Regions from separate parts of the Homo sapiens genome. Here region 2 is linked to region 1. The links are contacts of gene promoters, found by promoter capture Hi-C in blood cells and fetal thymus (Javierre and others, 2016). All regions are on one chromosome and are shown on one strand. The core of a region is centred on a gene start or on the middle of the fragment in contact, and the rest is flanking DNA. Distances in the headings are between cores, read along the strand shown.

The links. The method cuts DNA at HindIII sites, captures the fragments that hold promoters and counts their contacts. A CHiCAGO score of 5 or more calls a contact.
Region 2: a contact is called between a fragment that was not itself captured here and the fragment with the promoter of MLEC in region 1, in 2 of 17 cell types (M2 macrophages and naive B cells). The highest score is 9.0, in M2 macrophages.

The regions. Positions count from the first base shown.
Region 1 is chr12:120,685,654-120,691,559 of GRCh38, forward strand. It overlaps MLEC (malectin), which reads left to right and starts at 1,496. Exons shown (of 5, transcript NM_014730.4): 1 at 1,496-1,878. The coding sequence starts at 1,644. It overlaps LOC105370029 (a long non-coding RNA gene), which reads right to left and starts at 1,496. Exons shown (of 3, transcript XR_945449.3): 1 at 1,201-1,496. RefSeq lists silencers at 615-714, 1,555-1,854 and enhancers at 875-984, 1,075-1,204, 1,299-1,800. The HindIII fragment of the contact is 12,504 bases long and covers 1-3,696 here.
Region 2 is chr12:120,954,896-120,960,551 of GRCh38, forward strand. No RefSeq gene overlaps it. Among named protein-coding and RNA genes, the nearest start is that of HNF1A-AS1, 15 kb to the right of the region's middle. The HindIII fragment of the contact is 7,737 bases long and covers 249-5,656 here.

The sequences.
Region 1 (5,906 bases), core at 246-2,745:
AAGTTACCCCCATGGGGTCTGAATTTGGGGCCTGGGAAGGAATTTGGGTGCATTTAGATCCACCACTGATAGTCTCTATTTTGGCACCCTGTTTTGTTCCCGTATAGCACTTACCACTGTTCTAACTAAACAATTAATTTCATTATGGGTTGTGCAAAGTCTATGATTCTCATGCGGGACCCCAGGTGTGTTTTTTGTTCATGTAGCACAAAGCTCATTGCCTAAGTAGTAGGTAGGATTGGTAGATAAAATACAAGAAGTCCAGTTGTTTAAATTTTAATAAACAATGCATTTTTTTTTTTAGTATAAGTGGGTCCCATTTGCTTATCTGAAATTCAAATATAACTGGGCTTCTCCTATTTTATCTGCCAAATCTGACAACCCTGGTAGCAGGGACTTGATACATTTTTTTCCTTTTAGGGAGAATTTCTAAATCGACCAGTATTTATGGAAAATGCATAAGCGTTTTTTTGTTTTTTTTGTTTTTGCCTTGACTCTGCCCTACACTTGCGGTGCGACCCTTTGGCAAAATTCAGTCCCTTTCTATGCCTCAGTTTCCCCATCGGAAAAATGGGAGTTTGAACAGCGACCGAAGCGCAGGGATCGCCAGTGTGGGAGAGCGCCAGGTGAACTGTGAAGGAGCAGGGAGGGAGTTCGGGCCGTGCCCGTGCGGGACAACCCCGGTATCCACTCTGGGCACCGCCGGCGGCGACTCCCGCCAGCGCCTAGGGTGCCTCGGTCCCGCCCCTACGCAGCGGAGGCCGGCCAGAGGCCGTCGCCATGGAGACGCGAGCAGCCTGGCACCCACTCGCTCTCAAAGCCACGCGTTTCCGCTGCGTTGGAGCCTTCTCATTGGACGGCCGTCTGGACGCTACCACCCGCCCCGAGCCCGCTAAGGGGAGGGGGCGGGGCCTTATTCTCATGGGATTCGTTCCCTGGAGACCTGTGTCCGCGGCCTCTCTGGGAAAGCATGGGTCCTCTCCCTCACGCGGGGAAAAGGACTGCGTCTCTTAGGTCTGGAGAGTGTCCATTGCTTCTCCTACTAGAATTTATGCTCATGCTGCTCCCTGAGAAAAGAAGAGGGGGCGGGAAAGTCGGCCACGCCCCCTCCAGAGCCTATTTGGTCTCAGGAGCTAGAGCACCGGAAGTGCTGGCGACATGTCAGTGCGCCCTACCCTAAACCTTCCCCCCCCAGGCCACCTTTCCCATTCAGCTGTGGGATTCCGGGGCCGCCTGGGCGCTGCACCCGCCACTTCCGCATCGAACCGCCGCTTCAACCGAACTCACTCCCTCTGCGCGCGCTCCATCTGGTGCCCGACTGCTGGGCCGGCGCCTGGGAGAAGCCACGCCCTTTCCCGCGCCTGACAGCCAATGAGCGGGCGCCTCCCGGCGGGGTGGTGGGTAATTAATGAGGGCCGGGCGCTGATTGGCTGCAGCGTCGTGGCCGGGGGCAGGGCGGCGGGGTAGGTTGTTCCTGAGGTGGGAGGCGGTACCCGTGGCTGAGAAGAAGGAGGCCTGAGAGCGACATGTCCCCGGCGGCTCAGGCGGAGCGGCCCGTGGCGCTGTTTTTCTGAGTCCGGGGTGGCCTGGCAGCCGGCCGAGGACGAGGGTCGGCGGGGGCTGCCCCCGTGGTGGTGGCCGCCATGCTGGGAGCCTGGGCGGTTGAGGGAACCGCTGTGGCGCTCCTGCGACTGCTGCTGCTGCTGCTGCCGCCGGCGATCCGGGGACCCGGGCTCGGCGTGGCCGGCGTGGCCGGCGCGGCGGGGGCCGGGCTGCCCGAGAGCGTCATTTGGGCGGTCAACGCGGGTGGAGAGGCGCATGTGGACGTGCACGGGATCCACTTCCGCAAGGACCCTTTGGAAGGCCGGGTGGGCCGAGGTGAGAGTCCCCCTGCCGAGCCGCGGGATCCAGGGCCTGCTGTGCTGGGCGCAGCCGGCCGGGGGCTGCGGGCCCCGAGCCCCTTTCGACCCTGGGGCCGCGTCTCTGGAGCGAAGTTTCTCTCTGCAGCTTCTTCGGGGGCCCGCTCTGAGCTCAGGGCCTGGCACTGGCTCCAAGGTACCTAGAGTCATACAGGCAGAGAGTTGGCCAGAAGTTAGTTATATTTGGATTTCTCATCCTGCATTTTCTCAACCCCTCACTCCCATCCAAGCTGGGAGAGAAATGACGAAGGCGGCCTTTTGCTACCTCCAGGCCTCGCGGGTTGTAGGTCATGGGTGCCCCTGCTTCTCCTGTCGAGACAGTTCTTGGGAGATTCTCGTCGACCCAGGAATCGGCCGCTTTCCTTGCCCCTTCTGCAGGAGCGGGGCTTGATTCTTAGCCAGAATAGGAAGGAATCTTCGAAGAGAATGGGCCAGGAAAGTTTGATTGTAGCCTCCTCCCCCGCCCTCTTTTCGAGCGAAGAATATGTGTGCTTAAAAGTAGAATCGGCAGGCCGCCCCCAGAGGGTGGTTCTATCGAAGCCATCCTGCACGTGAGGCTGGTGGCTGTGTGTGAACTGGGTCAACCAGTGTAAGAATCCGAATGGTCTATCAGAGAATGCTTACAACCTCCCCTAGGTGATCCTGAGAGTTCTAATTCCAGCTTAGGGGGAAAATGATTGTGACTTAACTTGCTGGGCAACAGTGGTTTTTAACGGAGCTGCTCCCTTCCCAAAGTTAGTGTGTGTCAGAATTGCCAGGGCAGCTGGTTAAAAATGCAGATTCCTAGTCCCCACTCGAAATTGATTATAGTAGATTGAGCTTTTTTGCTGGGATCCAGGTTTCTGCACCAGGGGCTTGTGATGTAGGTTGCCCCGAGACCACCGTTTTGGAAGATCAGCTTTATAATCTTTGTTTCTTCTGTTGGAGGGATTGGAAAACAGGTTTCAGAAGGAAGTTCTTTGCTAGGAGATTGATACTGTATGCTGGGTTCAGAGGCTACCAAATTGGCAGTATGCCACCTCCAGACAACCAGGAGACAGACTCACTCTTCACTTTCTCTCATTCTTTTTCTGCGATGCCCAGATTTGGCTCTTGCTTTTACTAAAATAGTTAGTTCTTCCCAAGTCGATTGCAGTGTCCTGGAGTTTGTTATATTAAGGAGTTTATTGCCTTTCACACATGTGAGGGTCTTGGGACACAGGGCTGTTTTGTGAAGTTCTATGTTTGTCTTGGAGTTTGTTGAGCCCTGGCATGTAGATCACAGTAGCCTGGGTTCAGCTGACTCAGGGCTCCAGTCTTTAGCAGCGGTAACAGCAGCCAAAGCCAGACTTTATAGCAGGAGGTCATTACTATCTCTATCCTGGACCCTTCCTCTTTCTTCACGAGTGTGGGCAGGGAGGAAAGAGCCCTTGAGGAAACTAGACAGTTTGTGGACTTTGCCTCTTGAGATAGCGGTGGTGAGGGTGCTGAGCGGATGGTTTCTTTCACTTAGCAGATACCAGGCCTTACATTGGTTACATCGTCCTATTCAGTCTGTTGTGCAGAGAATAAAGCCGAGTAAGACCACACAGGTTTAGTTCCCAGATACTGCCCTTATTCAGAAATTCTGGTTTTAATTTGCTGATGCAGGTGGTGTGTGTGTGTGTGTGTGTGTGTGTGTGTTTCTTTGGCTTGGTCAGCAGTCAGCCAAGATCTGTGTCCTTGGGTTATTGGCTCATGGTTGCAGTTCCTTGGAAGGAGTTTATTGTAGCAGGTAAAATTACATGAGACCTACCAAAGCTTGTGTGTACTGGAGTCCTATTTCGGACACTGGCCCTTGGGGCATTGTATAAATGAAGGTTCCCTGCTAAGGTTCCCCTCTCCATTCTACCAATCTGGGTAAGAATTGGAGCAGTATTAAGGCATGGATGGGGAGTGGGAGGTGGCGCTTGTCAGCTGCAGTTTGGACCAGCTTGTTGCAACATTGCGCTTACCAGGTTCCTGAGAAAGGCATTTTGCTGGCTTTAGGTCGGGCTGAGATGCGCATAAGCTTGCACTCTCAGGAGGCAGCTCTCTACTAAGGAGTCAGTCCTACCAAGGGAAGTCCAGCTGTTCACACTGCCTTTCTTCTGGGCCTGTTTGGATAAGGGTGTGCCAGGTATTTGAAGACCCTTGCCTCGTGCAGCTATTTACACTGATTGCAGTAGGAACTGTATGCCTTATTTCTTTTCCCGCCTGCCTGTGATATTGTTTCCAGCATGCTGAGAAAAGTTGATTTTATGTTGAATGAATTCAGGTATTTGTTACCAAGTTAGTCCAGATAAGGGTTTGGCCTTCTTTTGAACTTGCTGTTTCTGTGTAGTTTCTTTGTAGTTCAACATTCTTGTAATTGTGAGTGGCCCAGGGCACCTAGTGGTTTATGCTTTCAAAAGCAGTTCAGAATATTTATTGAATTTCATTTCTGCCTTGAGGATAGCTAGTGCTTACAGCCTGGGAAAGGCTTTTTCAGCCTGTGTGCTTCCACAGATGGGAGCACCACTACAGAAAGTGGTTTAGAAGCGTTCACCTTGGGGTTTTGGTATGAGGCACATTCCAGGGTTTTTATTTATTTATTGAAAATTTTTAATTTTTTTTTTATTGTAGACACAGGGGTCTCACTATGTTGCCCAGGCTGGTCTTGAACTTCTGTCCTCAAGTGATCTTCCCACCTTGGCCTCCCAAACTGCTGGGATTACAGGCATGAACCATCACGCCTGACCATGTTCCAGATTTGTAACTTGGTCATTTTGAGTTCCTCTTCACTCTGACTAGGAAAAGACCTGGTTATTTGACCTGAGGGCACAGAATTTTGCTTGAGTTTAGGGAAGGCTATTTCCTCTTCAGAGAAAGATACCTGCTAAAGTCGCAGGTCCTCGAGAAACTTGCTTTACGTCTCTGAGCCTTGTTTTCCTTTTCAAAAAATCTCTCATGCTTTAGAAATTTCTGATAAGACTGTAAACTCTCCTGTCCAGAGTAGCTTGAAGTGTCTCTGTCACTTTTTTTTTCCTTGATGACCTTTTACATGGAATTAAAAATAGGGCAGAACATAGCTCCAGAGGGGAAAAAAGTTGGTTGGGGACCAGAGCCTATCAGGTTGCTAATGCTGTAACCTTAAGGAATACCCTTTCCTGGGCTGCCTTCCTTTCACCTGGGGAAGGATTTGGCTTTGGGGAGGTAAGAGCTTGAAACATGGGATGAGAGAGGAGTCACTGCTACCTCTGATTTGCTCAAAGCCATGGCAGTTGTTTAGAATTCTCTACCTCTACTGTCACCTAACAGGCAGGCTTCATCTGCAGGCCTTCCAAATAGTGGAAGTTCACAGGTAGAAAATTTAGGTCCCTGAATCCGTGGGTTCGCTGTCTCAGCCCATTCAGAACAATTCTTTAGGTACTGGCCTCACTGGAGAAAGAAGTGATCCAGAAGAACAGTCTAGTGACCAGGAGATCTGAGGGTAGGGTGGGAGTGACGCTAGAGCACCAAGGGGGGCTTTACAGCTGTGTTCTCATGGAGGACAGGCTTCTGCTCATTCTGGCTTTCCCACTCTTGTGGTTCCCAGTTGCAGTTTTCCAGTTAGTTTTATTACTTCCTTTTCTTTTGATCCATTCCCTAAACTGCCTTGAGTGGAGGCATTTGTTTAGTGCTTATCGTGTGCATATCCTTGCCTGGCTAGCATACCCATGTTTCTGTGTCTCTCTCCGTGTGAGGCATTGTATTGAGCTATTTATACAGATTGTTTTATCCTTACCACAATGCTGTGGGATAGGTGGTGTCCCCATTTTATAGGTGAGAAAACAGACCTAGAGAAAACAACTTGTTCAGTGACACTTCGTGTATGTCTTTTCCTGAACCCTGTGCTGAATTTTCCAAGGAGCCTAGTTACTACATTGTCTAAAACTAAGAAAGAGCAGACATAATGTAGGCCCTTCGGCCCCCTTCCTTTTTGGTTAACTGAGTTATGCCAATTTCAGC
Region 2 (5,656 bases), core at 2,867-5,366, 270 kb after region 1:
TTTTCTGCCCAGTGGGTTTCTGCCTTTCCTTTGGGGGATCGTAGAGGAGGTTTCCCTCACTGTCTCCAGCCAGACCAGGGACTGTAGATGGGGACTCCTGGGTCCACGTTGTCCCTGCGATGTCGTCGCCCACAGAGTGACCTGCGGTACCCACTGAAGAGGCCACTCTTCCCCTCCCACACTCACAGCATCTCACCCACCTTCCTCCAAAGTCACTATCAGGCCTGGACCTTGAGGATGGTTAACAAAGCTTTTAATCAAGGCAGAAGTTCTTCAGTGGGAGCACAAACTAGAATTCCCTAGAGGGCTTGGGAAACAAATCCAGCTCACTGGGCCCCACCCCGAGTTTCTGATTCAGCAGGTTTGAGGTGAGGCTTGAGGATGTGCCGTTCTAACAAGTTCCCAGGTGAGGCCAATGCTGCTGGCCCTGGGACCACACTTTGAGATCCAATGAGCTTAGTCAGTGCTGCTAATTCCATCCCCATTTGCCAGTGATTGACTGGGCCTAAGCCAGTGGACCAACGAGATGCAAGGCGGGGCTTACTCTGGGCTGATGAGGGTGAGCAGCTCCTCCTTCTCCCCAGAGGAGACAAAGGTGCCTGAGTGAGTGGTGGCAGCCACTTTGTGACCATGAGGGGAATCAGCCTTCACAGAAGCTGATGCTGTAGACTGAGAAAACCTAGACTCCTAATAACATATACCATCAAGCCCACCCAACTTTGGGATTTTTTTTTTTTTTTAATTCTGGGGAAACTTTTATTTTTATTTCTAGACCAATTGACTATGGGATAGGAAAGAAAGTGAGGTGTCAAGGATAAAGCCAATATTTGACTCAAACAATGTAGAGGATGTTTGTTTTTAGCTTACTTGAGGAAGGCTGTGGTCGGGGAGAAGATTGAGAATTCTTTTTTTTTTTTGAGACAGGGTCTCACTCTGTTGCCCAGGCTGGAGTGCAGTGGTGCCATCCTAGCTCACTGCAGCCTCGACCTCCCAAACTCAAACAATCCTCCCACTTCAGCCTCCTGAGTAGCCAGGATTATAGGCAGATGCCACCATGCCTGGCTAATTTTTTCATTTCCAGTAGAAATGAGATCTCACTATGTTGCCTGGGCTAGTCTCAAATTGGGCTCAAATGATCCTCCCACCTTAGCCTCCCAAAGTGCTGGGATTATAGGCGTGAGCCACTGCACCTGGCCAAAGATTAATTCTGATCAATGCTAAGGACTTTCCACTCTTTACAACTTTAACTTTGTTTTGGTTGTTTCAAGAGCTACATTTGATTCGATTCGTTTTGTTTTGAGATGGAGTCTCACTCTGTCGCCCAGGCTGGAGTGCAGCGGTGCAATCCCACTGCAACCTCTGACCCCCGAGTTCAAGGGATTCTCCTGCCTCAGCCTCCTGAGTAGCTGGGACTACAGGCACCCACCACCACGCCTGGCTAATTTTTGTATTTTTAGTAGAGATGGGGTTTCACCATGTTCGCCAGGCTGGTCTCAAACTCCTGAACTCAGGTGATCTGTCCACCTCGGCCTCCCAAAGTGCTAGGATTACAGGCATGTGCCACCGCACCTGGCCTAAGAGCTACATTTTTTATCGCAGTCTCAGCCTTTTCATTTCCCCATATCCCACTCATTCCTATAAGGGCCAAATGCAATAAAACAGATGTGTATGTGCACTCACGCTGTGGAGTGAAGATGCAAATGACTGTGATGATCCAAACCCTGGCAGGAAGGTGGCAGCCCCGTAGGGCATGGGGATCAGAGGTAACTCCACTGTGTGTGCCTTCCGCTGTGTGTGCCCTCCACTGTGTGTGCCCTCCGCTGTGTGTGCCCTCCACTGTGTGTGCCCTCCACTGTGTCTGTCCTCCGCTGTGTGTGCCCTCCACTGTGTGTGCCCTCTGCTCCGCTGTGTCCACAGTGACAGCATAGATTATCCCAGGGCTCAATCAGTTGTTCCAGCTAACTTCCTGCTAAACAGAGCTGGTCACCAGGAGCCAGGCTGACACCTTTGAACCCCTTCTTCCCCTCTGCCTCCTTTCTCAGAAAATATAAAGTGCAAAATGGTCCAGAGGTGGACAGTGTGGGGAGGGAGGGGACATTGAGTCTTGATGACCTGCAAATTTACACCAGTTTCTGCATAATCCTATATGGGCTTTATCTGATCTTAGAGGCACCCATCCCTTTGCAATAAAAGATTGCATCTGTTTTTATTTCCCCTTTCTGTTGGAAGCTGATAAGCCAAGAATGTACTCTCCCCACCTGCTCTCAGCTTTGATTCCCATTAACACAGGGGCATTCCCAGGAAAGGGTTGGGCTCCCCAAGGTGTTTGCTGGAGAACCTGCTGTCACTCTGCAGAGATGTACAAGTATTTACTGAAAGAAGAACTTCTCCAGGAATATTGTGTAAGCAGATTACACCGGATCTCCCTGCCCTTGGACAAATATATATGGTGAAGCTCAAAGAGGGGAATCCAATGCACAGAAACCTCCATGCTTAAAAAATATCTTGTGGCCGGGCACGGTGGCTCACGCCTGTAATGCCAGCACTTTGGGAGGCTGAGATGGGAGGATCACTTGAGCCCAGGAGTTCGAAACCAGCCTGGGCAACATAGGGAGACCCCCATCTCTACAAAAAATGAAAAAAGTTAGCCAGGCATGGTGGTGCACACCTGTAGTCCCAGCTACTAGGGAGGCTGAGGTGGGAGGATCACTTGAGCCTGGGAGTTTGAGGCTGCAGTGAGATATGATCATGTCACTGCACTCCTGCCCGGGCGACAGAGTGAGACTCTGTCTCAAAAAACAAACAAAAAACCAAACCAAAACAAAACAGAACTTGTGAATTGGTTTGGGGATTGCTGGTAAGAGACAAAGGGATGATCATCAAGTCTGGGGATGCCCATCCATTGCCACATCCCCAAGGGGATCACACCAGCTGGAGCACATCACTGCACGTCGCATTTTTGTTTTGTTTTGTTTTGAGACGGAGTCTCACTCTGTCTCCCAGGCTGGAGTGCAGTGGCGCCATCTCAGCTCATTGCAACCTCCACCTCCCGGGTTCAAGCAATTCTCCTGTCTCAGTCTCCCGAGTAGCTGGGATTACAGGCATGCGCCACCACACCCTGCTAAATTTTTTTGGAATTTTTAGTAGAGACAGAGTTTCACCATATTGGCCAGGCTGGTCTTGAACTCCTGGCCTCAGGTGATCCTCCCACCTCAGCCTCCCAACGTGCTGGGATTACAGGCGTGAGCACTGCACCCGGCCCTTTTTTTTTTTTTTGAGATGGAGTCTCACGCTGTTGCCCAGGCTGGAGTGCACTGGTGTGATCTCGGCTCACTGCAACCTCTGCCTCCTGGGTTCAAGTGATTCTCCTGCCTCAGCCTCCTGAGTAGCTAGGATTACAGGCACATGCCACCACGCCTGGCTACTTTTTGCATTTTGAGGCAGGGTTTCACCATGTTGGCCAGGCTGGTCTTGAACTCCTGACCTTAAGGCCCGCCTCAGCCTCCCAAAGTGCTGGGATTACAGGCGTGAGCCACCGCGCCCCGCCTTGCACATTGCATTTCTAGAGACTAGAGGCCTCAAATTAAGGTGTCGGTAAGGCTTGGCCCCCTCTCAAACTTGGGGGAGAGGGGAGATTCCACTCTTGCCCTTTCCAACGTCTCACGTCTCTGGTAATCCTTGGCAATCTTTGGCTTGCTGCTGCAGCACTCCACGGTGTACCTCTATTGTCCTAAGGTGTTCTCTGTGTGTGTGTCCAACTTTGGATTTTTGTTTTTATTAATTTTCTTTTCTTTTTTTCTTTTTTTTTTTTTTGACGAAGTTTCACTCTTGTTGCCCAGGCTGGAGTACAATGGCATGATCTCGGCTCACCACAACCTCCACCTCCCGGGTTCAAGCAATTCTCCTGCCTCAGCCTCCCAAGTAGCTGGGATTACAGGCATGTGCCATCATGCCCAGCTACTTTTTTTGTATTTTTAGCAGAGACAGGGTTTCTCCATGTTGATCAGGCTGTTCTTGAACTCCCGATCTCAGGTGATCCACCTGTCTCGGCCTCCCAAAGTGCTGGGCTTACAGGTGTGAGCCACCGGGCCCGCTGTTTTCATTAATTTTCATTTGAAGACATCCTGATACCTAGTCAAAGCCTCATGACTTTGGGGGCTGAGAGGACAGGGTGGTGGTGGATGTATAGTTGGCGGGGTGTGGTGGTGCACACCTGTAGTCCCAGCTACAGGAGGATTGCTTGAGCCCAGGAGGTCGAGGCTGCAGCAAGCCATGAGTGTGTCACTGTACTCCAGCCTGGGCGACAGAATGAAACCCTGTCTCTTAAAAAAAAAAAAAGAAAAAAAAAGGATGTACAGTAGGAGGATTATCTTTGCCTTCAGTTGCTGGGAGGTGATCTCTAGGCCCCTTAACGTCCTGTCTGATGGAAGTGTCTGTGTTTGCCTGGGGCCTTTGGCCACCAGATAGTCTAACAATGTGATCTGTAATGAAGGCTTTGGAACATCCTGTATCAGTTCCAACCTCCAGATGAGCTGGATACACAAGAGTTAGCTCAGGAGAGACTGGAGATGAAAGGTCAGCCACACTGGCAGTAAGGGATCAAGCCCCACTAAAAAACGCTGGACACTGGCTGGCAGTGGCTCATGCCTGTAATCCCAGCACTTCAGGAGGCTGAGGGGGGCGGGTCACCAGATGTCAGGAGTTTGAGATCAGCCTGGCCAACATGGTGAAACCCTGTCTCTACTAAAAATACAAAATCAGCTGGGCATGGTGCATGCCTGTAATCCCAGCTACTCGTACTCTGGAGGCTGAGGCGGGAGAATCGCTTGAACCCAGGAGGTGGAGGTTGCAGTGAACTGAGATCACGCAACAGCACTCCAGCCTGGGCGACGAGAGCGAGACTCCATCTCAGAAACAACAACAACAAAAACAAAACCCCCAAAAACGCTGGACACCAAAGCCTCAGGAGCTTCTCTGGTTAGCAGTATTCTCTGAGTGTCATCACGCATCATAGCTGGGGGGAGGTGACTGTCTGGAGAGAAGGTAACTAGGAGCTTTGCACTTGAACCCCTTCCGCACCTCACCCTCTATGTCCTTTCTTGTGGCTGGTTCTGATCTGTGTCTGTTTGCTATCATAAAAACTGTCGTTATGAGGCGGGGCACTTTCCTGAGTTCCATGAGTCATTCTAGTGAATTATTGAACCACAGGGGGTAGTGGGAACCCTCAATGCAGCCAAGCGGTCAGAAGTGAGGGTGGCCCAGGAATCCCCAGTTGCACCTGGCATTTGAAGTGAAGGCTGCCTTGTGGAGGGACTGTGTCCTTAGCCTTGAGCTTGACAAATTCATTGCAGTAGGTTCTGTCATCTGCCTCTTAGAGAATACCCTCATTTCAACTGGGCGCGGTGGCTCACGCCTGTAATCCCAGCACTTTGGGAGGCCGAGGCGGGCGGATCACGAGGTCAGGAGATCGAGACCATCCTGGCTAACACGGTGAAACCCCGTCTCTACTAAAAATGCAAAAAATTAGCTGGGCGTGGTGGCGGGCGCCTGTAGTCCCAGCTACTCAGGAGGCTGAGGCAGGAGAATGGCGTGAACCCGGGAGGTGGAGCTTGCAGTGAGCCGAGATCGCGCCACTGCACTCCAGCCTGGGCGATAG